Regions from separate parts of the Homo sapiens genome. Here all the other regions are linked to region 3. Evidence: promoter capture Hi-C in human tissues and cell types (Jung and others, 2019). All regions are on one chromosome and are shown on one strand. The core of a region is centred on a gene start or on the middle of the fragment in contact, and the rest is flanking DNA. Distances in the headings are between cores, read along the strand shown.

Region 1 (4,365 bases), core at 1,854-4,353, 770 kb before region 3:
TGTTGCCCAGGCTGGAGTGCAGTGGTGCGATCTCGGCTCACTGCAAGCTCCGCCTCCTGGGTTCAAGCAATTCTCCTGCCTCAGCCTCCCCAGTAGTTGGGACTACAGGCGCACACCGCCACGCCCGGCTAATTCTTTTTATTTTAGTAGAGACGGGGTTTCACTGTTGTTGCCCAGGCTGGTCTCGAACTCCTGAGCTCAGGCAATCCACCCGCCTCAGCCTCCCAAAGTGCTAGGATTACAGGCCTGAGTCACTGCGCCCGGCCAGGACTGTGTGATTTTCTTCAAAACACTAAGGGAGTAGGAAGAGAGGTTTTTTATTTTTATTTTTATTTTTTTAAGAGTCTCCCTCTGTGTCACCCAGGCTGGAGTGCAGTGGCACGATCTTGGCTCACTGCAATCTCCTGTCACCTGAGTTCAAGCAATTCCCCTGCCTCAGCCTCCTGAGTAGCTGGGATTGCAGGTGCCCATCACCACACCCGGCTAATTTTTTTTTGTATTTTTAGCAGAGCTGGAGTTTCTCCATGTTGGCCAGGCTGGTCTCAGAACTCCTGACCTCAGGTGATCTGCCCACTTCGGCCTCCCAAAGTGCTGGGATTACAGGGGTGAGCCACCTCGCCCAGCCAAGAGAGTCATTTTGATTTGTCCTTCAAAATAGCTCTCAGATTCATGTATTTCTTTCTAAATCTGTTCCCATCACCCTTGTCTGATTGTCCCTCTCCCCTCACCTTTAAACCTTGTTTACTTGCTAGTAGGTCTCTGTCTTCTTGCTTAAAAAAATAAAAAAATACAAGTTGCACCCTTTTTCAAGAATTTAAAATGACGTCCTACTCCTGTCAGATGATTTTAACCAGCTCACCTAGTCATTCCAGGCCTTCTGTAATTTGTCTTCCCCTTTTCCCTCCCCTTGCTCCTAACTAGTGCCTTTCCCACACACCAGCCTCACAGGACCTTTTTTTTATCCATGCTGCAGGCTCCTTGCTAACCAAGTAAAAGCTTTTGCTGAAGCTGTGTCCCTCGGGAACATTTTCTTCTTTTGCACCAAGCCAACTCCCACCAAAGTTTTCCTGTCCTTCATGATAAAATGTATCCAGCATCTTTCTGTGCAGTCTTCGGAGAATATTTATTGTCTTCTTTGCACATTTGGAAATTTATGTTCAATGTAGCTTTTCTTTTGAGACTTGGTGTTGTCTTTTTAATAGTTTAGTACTATTAAATATTTAATATTTAGTACTGTCTTTTTAATAGTTTAGACTTTTTAATAGTTTAGTATGTGCAAATCTTATTTTAATTCAAATATATTATCATTTTCTTAAAGTCTGGAACCACAACCCACAGTGGATTGTGTAGTAGATTGTGTCTCAAGTAAGTGTTTAATACTTACTGGATTGAACTGAGATTTGAGCTGGGTCCTAAAACTTTAAATGAATTACACCTTAATCCCCACTCACTAATCTATTCCATAAGCATGTATCTGAGTACCTAAACCCTGTGCTAGGAGCTGAGGAGATTTCTTTTAACCTCTCAGTGCCTCTGTATTTTGAGGTGTCTTTCTCTGAAAATTTCTTTCCAGCCTTTAAAACAACCCCAACTGTCTGACAGTTTGTTGAATTGCCTTGGACCCAAGATCCCTCGGCCGTTAATTCTGTGTAGATATTGTCCCTGTTTATCTTCTTCTATTTTTTTTAGATCTGACTTTACTGAGTTACTGTTCATCTTACTGGTTCACCTGGCCTTAAATCTGTCTCTCTGTCTCTCTCTTTCTCTGTATGTGCGTGTGCACATGTGTGTGTATGTTTAGGTCTCTTGTGTACTCGCTGTGGGGCTTAGCCTAGTTGTTGATACTCCCCTCCCTGATCACAGTCCAGTTAAGGCTGGCCTAAAGTGGCAAACCCCTTCCCCCTCCTTTCCTCTAGTCCAGAGTCCAAGATGTGGGTAGAAGTGTTCAGTCAGATAAAACTATCTGAGAATGCCAGTGTCTCCCAGGCCACCCACTTTCCTGGAGAATTTTGAGAATGTCTTTTGTCCCAGCCCCACATAGAGAAGAATCCTACCAGGCAATACCAAGGTACCAAGCAATCCTGTCTGTAGTAGTTTATTCTTCCTCCTCACTGACATTCCCAGGGGCTTTATGAAGGGTGGGGAGGGAGAAGGGGCAGTTTTGCTGTTTGGAGGGATGTCACGGTCCTCTGAGGAAAGGTGGGACGTATGTCTGTGGGGCAGGAAGGCTGTGTGGGTTACTTTATCAAGTCTTAGCGTTGCTACTCTTTGTGCCTTTCTCTGAGTCAGTTAGTCTTGATTTCCACATCTGTTTTGGCTTCAGCCTCTCTCACCTGCCCTCTTCCATTACCCAACAGCCTGACTGCTAGCTAGTTCTTGCCATAGTGGCCCAAACTCATGCTGCTTTGTAGAGGTGGGAGGGGAGGAGATCATGGAAACAAGGGAAACCTCCTGCTGACACCTTCCTTTCCTTTCCCAGGCCTCCAGCCCCCACGCGCATGCTAGGCCTCCTTATCCGGGTCAGGACGAACCAGAGGAGGCCTACGGGGAGAAATAAGGAGACAGAGGGACAACGCATAGAGAGGAGCAACAGAGAGTTGGGGGCAGAGTCAGGGAGATGCGGGATGCGCCCTCGGGAGCAAGGTCGCCCAAGCCGTATAGGAGGGGAAGGGAGGACGGATCGCGCAGGCTCTGACAGCCCAGCCCAGCCCCGCGAGGCTCCCAGGTTTCCTGTCTGTTTCTCCTCCCAGCTCCTCTTCCTCTCTTGGGAAATTTCTCCCCAGAGCCTCTCCTGTGCCAGCCTGTCTCTGCTTCTGTATGTATTTCTTCCTCTGCCCGGTGTCGGCGACTGTCCGTGGGTCTCTCCATCTCGCGTCTGTCTCTGGTCTCCAGTTCAGCCTCCCGGCCTGGCCCTCTGGGTGGACGGTGCTCCTGGCGCCCCTCCCCGGGCAGCACTATTGGCGGAGAGGTGACGAGAAGGCGGTGTCTAGCCGCCCTCCGAGGGCGGGATTAGTCGCGGCGACCCAAAGGCGGGCAGGAGGTGGGCCCGGCTGGGAGGCGGGCGGGGCCACTGGGGCCGAGCCCAGAGCCCCGGGCGGTCGCATTGTTTTCCTCCGCGGATCCGCGGCTGGACTTGGACCCAGGGCTCTCCCGACAGCGCCCTGGAACCCAAATTCAAGCACCATCCAATTCGGACGCTCATCGCATCTCGCCTGAGCACAACCACGGATTGCGAACTCAGCGCAGCGCGTGGCCGCTGGCCGCCCGCGGCGATCTCGATCCCGCTGACCCGAATCCTGGAGCAAGTACCCCGGGCAGGGAAGGGGCTGCGGGGAGGCGGGGAGGGAGCAGGAGGGCGCGGCCGGCGGGGGGCAAGCTTCTGAAGCGCTAGGGGACCAGGGAGGTGTCGGCGCCCGGTGTGCCTGGCTGACGGAGAGGGTCAACGAAATTGGGGTGCAGGGAGGAAGGAGGGACAGTGGCCGAGCCCCGTAACTGTACTGGTGAGAGCAGAGTCTGGGCACCTCGTTCAATTGGGCTTTCGTCGAGTCGCATCCCGCTGGACTGGGAAGCGCGAAAAGGGATTATTTGAGGCGCGCTCCGTAGAGAGCGTGGAAAACCTGGCCCCTTGCTTTCCCAGCAAGGAAACTAGGGCTCCGAGACCCACGGAGAACTAGACCCTCCTGACGCCCCTGAAGGGATGGGAAGAGGGACGCATCGTTCCGGACTTTGTGTCACGGGTGCTCCTCTGTCCTTGTGCAAGCCGGAATCTGAGCACCCTCTGAAGGGTTGGCTCGTGCAAAGAGGCGGCGAATGGGGCCCTCGAGCAACATCGGTCCCAGCGCCTATCTCCTTCCTTCAGCCCGCTCGGCCCGGGGCTTTGTTAGACTGAGGTCTCCCAAGGAGGACATCCGAGCTGGCAACTGCCTCCTGAGCCCACGGTCCCCACTGAGCGCCGGCCTCAGGCCCGCCCTCGTCGGTTCTCAGCCTCTGGCCCTGTTTCCCTGGCCTGGGAGACCCGCCTCCGCTCCCCAACCCCCGCTCCTATCCCCTCTTCGTCTGCGCCTGCAGGCCCCTCCAGCCCCTCCTCTCGCTAACGTGGCTCTGGGACCCGGTCCCGGCCCAGACTCTGCTACCGGCCCCTCCTCGGAGCCCCGGATCCGGTGAGGGGGAGACAGGTCGAGCCCCTGGCCCTAGGCCCACCTCTTTTCGAGGCTTTAGACACCTGGATTGTCCTGGTTGGGGGTTGGGTGGGAAGGAGGGTAGGTGCTGAGTGTGGGGCTAAGAGCTAAGAGTGGGGGAAATGGCTTGGAGAAAGGAAAGCTCCGGTTCCACAGGCTCCTTGGCGCGACCCTGCTCCCTCTGAGG
Region 2 (4,290 bases), core at 1,535-4,034, 690 kb before region 3:
TGTGAGAGTGTGGGGGCTTCAGGAATGGTGAGTGGGTAGGCTAGGATGTTTTTAATGTTGAAAGTGAATTCTGAGTTGTTCTTTTTCTTAGTTTAAGTTCCAAAATAAACCCTGGGAACTGAGCATTACTCAGCAGAGAAGCTGCTTAGAAGGAGGGTGATGCCGGGATTGCAGCAGGGTCGGGGAGCATGTTGGAAAGGTGAGGTCATCATCCTATGATACTCAACTCTGATAATCTCCATAGTACTTTGCAGAGACGTGTGCAGAAAGAGAGCTACAAAAAATGGTTGTATCCATTAACCAACCACCCACTGCTTAAATCTGGGACTATAGAGATTCTAAGAAGCATACCTAGGAGTCAATACTGTTATGGACTTGTGGCTACAGGGATTCTTACTGTTACCAGTTATTTTCACAGCTAGCTGGGTTCTTTTCTCTATCCTACCTGACAAGTCTTCTCCAGAATGAGCTTAGTATAATGCAGGCCACATTATAGGCTCTTTAAAAAATAGAATCATGGGGCCAGGCGCGGTGGCACACGCCTGTAATCTCAGCACTTTGGGAGGCCGAGGCAGGTGGATCACAAGGTCAGGAATTCGAGACCAGCCTGGCCAAGATAGTGAAACCCCGTCTTTACTAAAAATACAAAAATTAGCCAGGTGTGGTGGCAGGCGCCTATAATCCCAGCTACTCGGGAGGCTGAGGCAGGAGAATCGCTTGAACTGGGGAGGTGGAGGTTGCAGTGAGCCAAGATTGCACCACTGCACTCCAGCCTGGGCAACAGAGCGAGACTCCATCTTAAAAAAAAAAAAAAAATAGAATCATGGGGGGAAAAAATCATAGAATTTTAAAACTAGAAGACATCTTAGAAATTAATGACTTGGGAAGACTTCCAGCCAGTTTGTATAGAATCCAGATCTCATAATTCCCAATCTGATCCCTTTTTGTGTTGTACATGGATAGTTGCCAACAGCTTTATATAACCCTATACCAGTATTCCCAAAACTTAAAAGAATTTTTAGTTGCTGAAGAATAGATTTTCCGTGGTTTAGGTGATTGTTCCTGTAATTGTGATCTGAATGGGGAAAAGCAAAGGGCAGTAGAGCAAGCTAGAATCTGAGAAAAAAAAAAAAGCTCTTCGACAAACTGACTCCTTTTCTTACAACCAGAGTATGTATAAAAAACTGCTCAAACAGTCCCTGAGTGTTTGGTAGAGCTATCTTGCAATTTAAAAAGCTAAAGCAAATTTTATGAAATATTAACTCAAAAGGCCTAAAATCTCTATGTCATTGACCCAGAGACATGTACACAGGGTACCAAATACATTCAAGAAAGACATGCATGCAAACATACGTGGCATTAAAATCAAGTCAAGAACATAAAGTAATACTACACAGAAAATTGAAGTTAAAATGCTATTCACTAATGTAAGTAGTAATGACATTTTTGATTTAATATAGTATGGATTTAATTATCAAATACTCCAAATTTCGCAAAAGATCCTTTTTTGGCTAGCTTCCCCTTCCCCTCCACAAATGCTCTCCAGCCCTACTTCATCTATCTTTACATCTTTCATTATCTTAAATGGTATCATTTACTTAAAGGGTTTTGACAGTGCCTTGTACCACAATATATGTTCAATAAATGCTTCCCACTATCCTTCACTTTAAATTATCCGGGTATTTTAGGCAAAGGCAATATCTAATTATCACTCTGTTCTTAGAGATACATGATTAGCAAATGTATAGATTAGAAAGATACACTCTCGGAGCCACACAGACACGCCCAAATATCCTTTGTCCAGACCCTTTGTGGGCATCCAAGGCCTACTCAACAGGGCCTTGCTGTGTCATGCTGCCACCATGGGGAAGGGGGAAGGACAAGGTGGTGGTGGTGGTAGAGGGGAGCAGAACCTCTCTGACATCTCATAATGTGTGCCTCAGTCAGAGCTTGGATTTTCCTACTAGCATTCCTCCACCAATTCCACTGAGCTGCAAATCATTCTTTTCCAGAATCTGTCCCCATACCTAGCTCCTGTGGGCTATACTGATTTCACTATGGAATCAGGCAGTTCTCCAACACAGAGGCCCCCACCTTTCCTACCCTAGGCTGCCTCTTTCTTTGGAGCAAAGATTCGAGGTGGAATGAAAGAGATTATCCAAAGAAAGGTCAGGATTACACCCAACATTATCCCATATAACCCCCTCCCAAACTCCCTCCTACAGAGAAACATAGAACACTACAGAAAAAAATTGCAAGTATAGGGAAGTAGAGGACAGAGAGATACAGTAGGACTAAAAATTAAACAGCTGGTAAAACAAATTATGGTTTGAAAAGGAAGATAAGTAGACTGAAGATATTAAATACACAGGACAATAAATTACAGAAAAGGATACTTGAAATGAGGTAGGTGCTGAGAAATAACTACAAGTAAATTGTTAGAGATTAATGGTCTGTATAAGGTAACAAGGCATGGATGCTGTGAAGAAATAACTACCCATTGTTCATAGCGCCCCCTTCTCTCCTCTTCAGCTGTCCCCCACCTCATGTGGGGTCTTTCAATCTAACCATAAGCAGCCGCTCTTCTATCTTTGCAGCCCCCTGCCCCCTCCCTCAGTTTGGTTTACCTGTTATCAATCAATTACTGGCGTGTTCCAAAGATGGAGGGAGTGCCTCGGGAGCTCCGGGGTCTGCGCCGGGCTGGAGAAATACAAAGCTGTTGGGGCTTTGACGGCTTTGTCTTCTCACTCCTTTTCCCTCTTCAGTGACTGAGTCTGTCAGTTCACTCTCCCCCTGCAATGCAGCCCCTCCTAAGAAGGGCGGAAGGATTCCCCGCCCCCTCCTGCCTGACTCGGCTAATTCAAATGATAGGTTCCAGAACACTTGAGGGAAGGAGAGACGATGAAAGCATCTCCCTAGGCTCATTGGTCTGCGCTATTATTCCCGATCTCTTCCAGCACCCCCGTGCTGACTGGGGGCCCAATGAATGAGCAGTTAATTGCCCTCTAATTTTAGGTCCTCTAATTTATGGATTTGAAATCTTAACTCTAGACTACAATGGAAAGGAGGAGTATTCCTTTCTTCCACAATTTAAGGACTTTAGGTTACAAAGTATTTTTAAGAATCAGAGTATTTTTCCACCCCTTCTCCCAATCCCTGCTCCTCCAGACTCGCCTCTCTACCCTCACAATGGGTAAATAAACCTAGTCCTATTCCATTTTGGGTAGAGCACAATAAATTTGGGGTGGGGGGCGTGCTTCTGCGAATCTCTGAACTTGGTTAGGTCTGGGGGTTTGGGGGGCTCCGCTTCGTTTTGCCCCGAAATGCCTGGCGAGTAAAGGGAACGTGAGATTCCGGGGGCCCCAGCTTGGGTGCCAGGGCCTCATCTAGGTGTCCGCATTCTCCAGTTCTCCCCGCAGGGGCGGCGGCCTTGAGGGGCTGCAGAGGCACCCTCCCACGTCCCGCGCAGTGCAGTGCCTCCGCAGTCCAGAGGGGAGCAGTGCGCCGGGCTCCGAGCCGGACGGGTTTCGTAATCGCGTCGCCGCCGCTTCCGCCCTCAGCCGGCCCCACCTCTGCCGGCTCGTACTCGGCTCCCCCACCTCGCCGCAGAGCTAGCCCGGGAAGCCCACACTGGCGGCCACGGAGCAGAGTCCCTCACCCCCACCAGCTGTAGCTGAACGTCTGGATGGTGGAGAAGAGCAGGTGAGGCCGTGCAGTTGGTCCCCTGGCCCGCCTGCCGCGCCGGCCGGGCCAGGCGGAGACACACCGGATGCGGGGTGTGGGGGAGGCGGGTGTCCTGGGCTGCAGAGATGCTGGGGTGGTGGGAAAGGGGTGCGCGCCCGGGGTGGCCGTAGTCATCCACGCTCCTGGGGTGCGCAGGCTGAGGCCGCTGAAGAGTAGAAGGAAAAGAAGGAACTGGAATGTTGGGGGAGGTGGGAGGGAGAGGGTCCGAAAGATTCCCAGAGAGGTCCCAGTCCGGTTAAGGGTTGAGAACAGCAGAGAACTTCTAGGTAGAGTTGTGTAGTGGGGGGAGACAGATACGGAATCTGTGTGATTGAATATATTTGGGGAGGGGAGGCTTAGGGCCTAGCCCTCTTTCCTCTTAAGCCCCCAGAAGACCTTTCCTGGGGAAGGGAAGGTTGGTGTTGGGCCTGTCACTTGGCTGAAATATGGAGTCCACACCGCTTCTCCAGAGTCCCTCAGCAGCCCTCCATGTCTCGGGGTCTCCACACAGGGACCAGCTGCTGCCCCGGGCTTCTAGCCAGAATTGCCCATGCCATTCTCTCGATT
Region 3 (4,779 bases), core at 465-2,964:
TGACCTCAGGTGATCTCCCCACCTTGGCCTCCCAAAGTGCTGGGATTACAGGCGTGAGCCACAGCGCCCGGCCAGCACTCAGTATTTCTAAGTTCATTTTCTCATTCTGTATCTTTAGGCATAACATATTATAAGAGAATTTTAATCTTTCAAGTAATACTGCCTCCTAGACACAAAGATCATCATTTTAAAAGACTGTATCGGCCGGGCGCGGTGGCTCACGCCTGTAATCCCAGCACTTTGGGAGGCCAAGGCGGGCGGATCACGAGGTCAGGAGATCGAGACCATCCTGGCTAACACGGTGAAACCCCTTCTCTACTAAAAATACAAAAAATCAGCCGGGCGTGGTGGCGGGCGCCTGTAGTCCCAGCTACTCAGGAGGCTGAGGCGAGAGAATGGCGTGAACCCGGGAGGCGGAGCTTGCAGTGAGCCGAGATGGCGCCACTGCACTCCAGCCTGGGCAACAAACAGAGCAAGATTCCGTCTCAAAAAAAAAAAAAGACTGTATCATGCTACACTCTAAAACTATGATGACAGTAAAGGAACACAAAAACAGCTCAGGATCCATTCTAGGTTTTTTAAAACAAAAAATGTTAAGTTATAATCCCAAACATTAAAAGATCCTTTTTTCCTTTCACAGTGCAACTTTTACTAAAGGGTAATAAAGAATCACTCTCTCTCTCTGCTAATGGATTCCAGAGAACTAGAAAGTGCAAGTAAGTGAAATTAATTATAAGAGAAAGAAGTGAAGAAAGAGAGATGAGGGAGAGATCAAGGCCTCAATCAAACACTAGTAAAATTTAAACCCAGCAAACCAAACATTTTCATTTCCTTCATCAAAGAGCCTCTATTTCAATATTTCTCTAAAAACAAGAGAATAAGAATGAAGCATTTTTAAAAACTATCTTTATCTTAGCCAGAAAAGCTTTAATATTTCAAAGCACAGATGGAATTGTTGCCTTTTCTCAAAAGGAATAACTAGGTTCTACTACTTTCTCCCTAAGATGTACATTCCTCCAGTGTTCTATAATTAATATCTGTGGGGGCAGTGGAATTTGAAATCACTACGAAACACAACTACTTTTTGTTTCCTTGACAAATAGATGAGAAAGTCAGTCAAGCTGGTTTGTAAATTGTTCTGTTCTTGGGTAATTTTTATTAGGGTCTCTGAGTTCCTTCAACAAATTAAACCTCATGTATCCTTAATTCTCAATTGAAATTTTAAAACAACTGACCAAAATCTCCCCTTTTGACTTTTAAAAGTACTGCTGTAAAACAATAAACACCTGGAAAAAGTGGGAGGAAAAAAGAGAACATAACTGACAAAAGCCTAGGAGGAAGAAAGAATTTTGATGCAACTATTATTTATTAGTTTAAGAAAGGCAGGAAGCCAAATCATTAAGAGTAAAATCATTCAACCCAAGGAAGCTGATAACAACAAAAAAGAATAAAATCAGTAAGCTTCTACTCCCTAAAAAATTACGCACATACATACACTCGTCCCTCCTCTACAGACAAAACTAACATTAAAGTAATTCTGGGTGGCCTCTGTGAGCAAATTTTAATATTAGTGTTTTTCCACTGCTATTGTAATTTTCCTTTCAAGATACCTCCATGTCACAGAACCATGTGAAGTTTGTCAGTAGTGTTTCACACTTTTAGTTATGGGAATGTTTATTTGCTACAAAATTTACTCTTTAGCTTACTATGGAATTTGGTATAGTAAAATTATGTTTTACATATTGCTTCAAACCCACCTAAGGCCATGGATGAAATCACCCTTCTGCTGTAAGAGACTAAGCAGCTAAAAGGAAGAAGATAACAACTGCTTGGAAAGTCTCACAATACAGACAAAAAGGCTTAATATATACCATTACAATAATTATAGTTTATAATTAAGACAGTTCCATGTTTCGAAACATTGCCAGAAACCTGGAAAAATACCACCTATAACTCTATGAACCTAGAGCAATGGAATGAAAAAAAAAAAAGGTGACTTAGGCATCTAAAGGGGAGGGAGAGGGTGGATAATAACCAATTATAACAGAGCTCCTGCTCAATGAATACAGAAATGCCATTAAGCGTAAACCAAGAGTAAAAATACGCAAGAGACCAAAATAGATTTATTACTTCTTTGGGGGGCTGAGACAAAGTTTACCTTGAACCTCAAAAAGAACCTAAGCCAATAACACACTAGACTAAGTAGAAAGAGTCATCTAAAATACTAGAATGCCCCAACAGCCTTCTGAGAATAGAGAATAAACAAACTTAAAAGTGCTTTTCCTACATTCTCATTCAACAATCAACAAAGACTTCTTTGACCAAATGTATGAGAGTTCTCCCCACACACACCAAGCAAGCAATTCTGCAATGAACACCAGCTAGGTGCCCTCCAATTCAATTCTGACACTGGAAGAGAGCATCAGATCCCACAGACTGAGTGCTCAGTCTCACAAGACTGCCCCCCACTTCCCATGCCAATCACAAATCTCAGGTTAACATTTGCTCTGACCCAACCACCATAAATCGGGGCTCACACAACCCCCTTCTTGGGTTCCATTAATTTGCTTGAGCAGCTCACAGAACTCAGGGAAACACGTTTACTGGTTAATTATAAAGGACATAACAAAGGACACCAATGAACACCAGATGAAGAGATGGAGGGGGCAAGGTAGGGCTAAGAGTGCAGAGCTTCTAGGTTCTTTCTGGGCATGCCAACCTCCAGGAACCTCCATATGTTTTGCTGTCTAGAAGCTTCCCAAAACCAGTCCTTTTGGATTTTTATGGAAGTTTCGTTATGAAGGCATAATTAATTAAACCACTGGCCACTGGTGTTCAGTTTACCCCTTCAGCTCTTCTCCCTTCCCCAGAGGTTAGATGGTAGGGCGGAAAGTCACAACCTCTAGTCCTGCCTTATTCTTTCCAGTGACCAGCCCCCATCCTTAGGCTACCCAGGGGATGCCAACCATCAGTCAACTCATTAGCATACAAAATGACACTTATCACCTTGAAGACCCAAGGATTTTTGAAGTAGTATGCCAGGAAATGGGACAGAGACCAAATAGAGATTTCATAATACCATAGCCTTCTCTCTGGACCTCTTCTATATCTGTACTTGCTGCTCTATCTTACTAGACTTACTTCCCTATCTACACTCTCTCTCTAGTTGATCTCTTCCAGCTTCCTGGCTCTAAAAACAATCCATATACTAGACACGCTATGGTGATTGCTGAACAACTCTATGAATATACTAAAACAATTGAATTGTACACTTTAAATGAGTATATTTTTTGTGAATTATATCTTTAAAAAAGATTTCTTAAAATAGACATCCCAAACCTAACACATCCAAAACTAAATTTCTCATCTTCTTCCCAAAATCTGCTCCACTCACAGCCTTCCCCATATCAATAAATGTCAACTCTTATCTTTCTAGTTGCTCAAGCTAAAAAAAAAAAAAAAAAAAAAGTCATTCTTGATTATTCTCCTCCTCTCTCACCCCACATTTAATCCACCTAGAAATCTGGCTGGACCTACTTTCAAAATAGATCTAGAATTAAATTACTTATCACTTCCGCTGGCCATAACCTGGTCCAAGCCATCAATATTTTACACTGGATTACAATAGCCATCTAATTGGTATCCCTGTTCCAGCAGAAACAAGAATAACCTTTTAAAAACAAACGAGTGCCAGGCGTGGTGGCTCACGCCTGTAATCCCAGCACTTTGGGAGGCTGAGGCGGGCGGATCACTTGAGGTCAGGAGTTCGAGACCAGCGTGACCAATATGATGAAACCCTGTCTCTACTAAAAATACAAAAATTAGCTGGGCATGGTGGCATGCACCTGTAATCCCAGCTACTCAGGAGGCTGAGACAGGAGAATCGCTTGAACCCGGGAGGCAGAGGTTGCAGTGAGCCGAGATGGTGCCATTGCACTCCAGCCTGAGCAACAGAGCAAAATTCCGTCTCAAAAAAAAAAGAAAAAAAAAGAGTTCATCTCCTTTTGCTTAAATGGCTCACCATCTCACTCTGAATAAAAACCAAAGTCCTTACAATGCCTATAAAACCCTTGGTGAATCCCATTTCACCCCTCCCCAACACCACCCACCATAATCTCTTTGAACTCATCCACTAATCTTCATTTTAACAACTCCTTTCCAGTCACAGAAGCTTTCTTGCTGCTCCCTAAACTCACCAGGCACACTCTAACCTCAGGACTTTTGTTTTTTCTGTTCACTTAGTCTTGAACATGCCCACCTCATACCCTCATGTCTATATTGCTTAATATCATACCTCCTTACTCAGATGTCACCTTCTCAGTGAGGCCTTCCCTTACCATTTAATGTAAAACTGCAAACCCCTCTGTTTCCCCCTTCCCTGCTTTCTATTTCTCTAGAGCATTTATCGCCTTCTATTATGTTTAATATTTTACTTATCTGTTTGCTGTCTGTCTCCCCTTACTAGAGTATATGCTGTCTTTGTGTGTGTGTGTGTCTGTGTGTGTGTGTGTGTTTCTTTTTTCAGACGGAGTCTCACTCTGTTGCCCAGGCTGGCATGATCATGGCTCACTGCAACCTCTGCCTCCCGGGTTCAAGCAATTCTCCTGCCTCAGCCTCCCAAGTAGCTGGGACCACAGGTGTGCACCACCAAGCCCGGCTAAATTTTAAGCTCTGTGAAGGCAAAAAATTTTGTTCATTTTGTTCTCCTGCTGTATCCCCTGTGCCTAAACAATGCCTGGCACAGTAGGTGTTTGATAAATATTGAAAAAACTGAATGGA

What was found. Contacts are between HindIII fragments. The study calls those that stand out against the background at their distance.
Region 1: the fragment with the promoter of SEMA6C here is called in contact with a fragment that was not itself captured in region 3 in 1 of the 25 tissues and cell types used here (dorsolateral prefrontal cortex).
Region 2: a contact is called between the fragment with the promoter of MLLT11 here and a fragment that was not itself captured in region 3, in 1 of the 25 tissues and cell types used here (dorsolateral prefrontal cortex).

What each region holds. Positions count from the first base shown.
Region 1 is chr1:151,145,369-151,149,733 of GRCh38, reverse strand. It overlaps SEMA6C (semaphorin 6C), which reads left to right and starts at 3,103. Exons shown (of 19, transcript NM_030913.6): 1 at 3,103-3,301. It also overlaps a transcript of LYSMD1 not described here. RefSeq lists silencers at 2,626-2,685, 2,896-3,355. The HindIII fragment of the contact is 4,441 bases long and covers 164-4,365 here.
Region 2 is chr1:151,058,891-151,063,180 of GRCh38, reverse strand. It overlaps MLLT11 (MLLT11 transcription factor 7 cofactor), which reads right to left and starts at 2,784. Exons shown (of 2, transcript NM_006818.4): 1 at 2,628-2,784. CDC42SE1 (CDC42 small effector 1) reads left to right here and starts at 3,559. Exons shown (of 5, transcript NM_020239.4): 1 at 3,559-3,702. RefSeq lists an enhancer at 2,647-3,238. The HindIII fragment of the contact is 8,370 bases long and covers 1,212-4,290 here.
Region 3 is chr1:150,372,223-150,377,001 of GRCh38, reverse strand. All of the region lies in intron 1 of RPRD2 (regulation of nuclear pre-mRNA domain containing 2), which reads right to left. Among named protein-coding and RNA genes, the nearest start is that of RPRD2, 10 kb to the right of the region's middle. The HindIII fragment of the contact is 3,498 bases long and covers 1-3,463 here.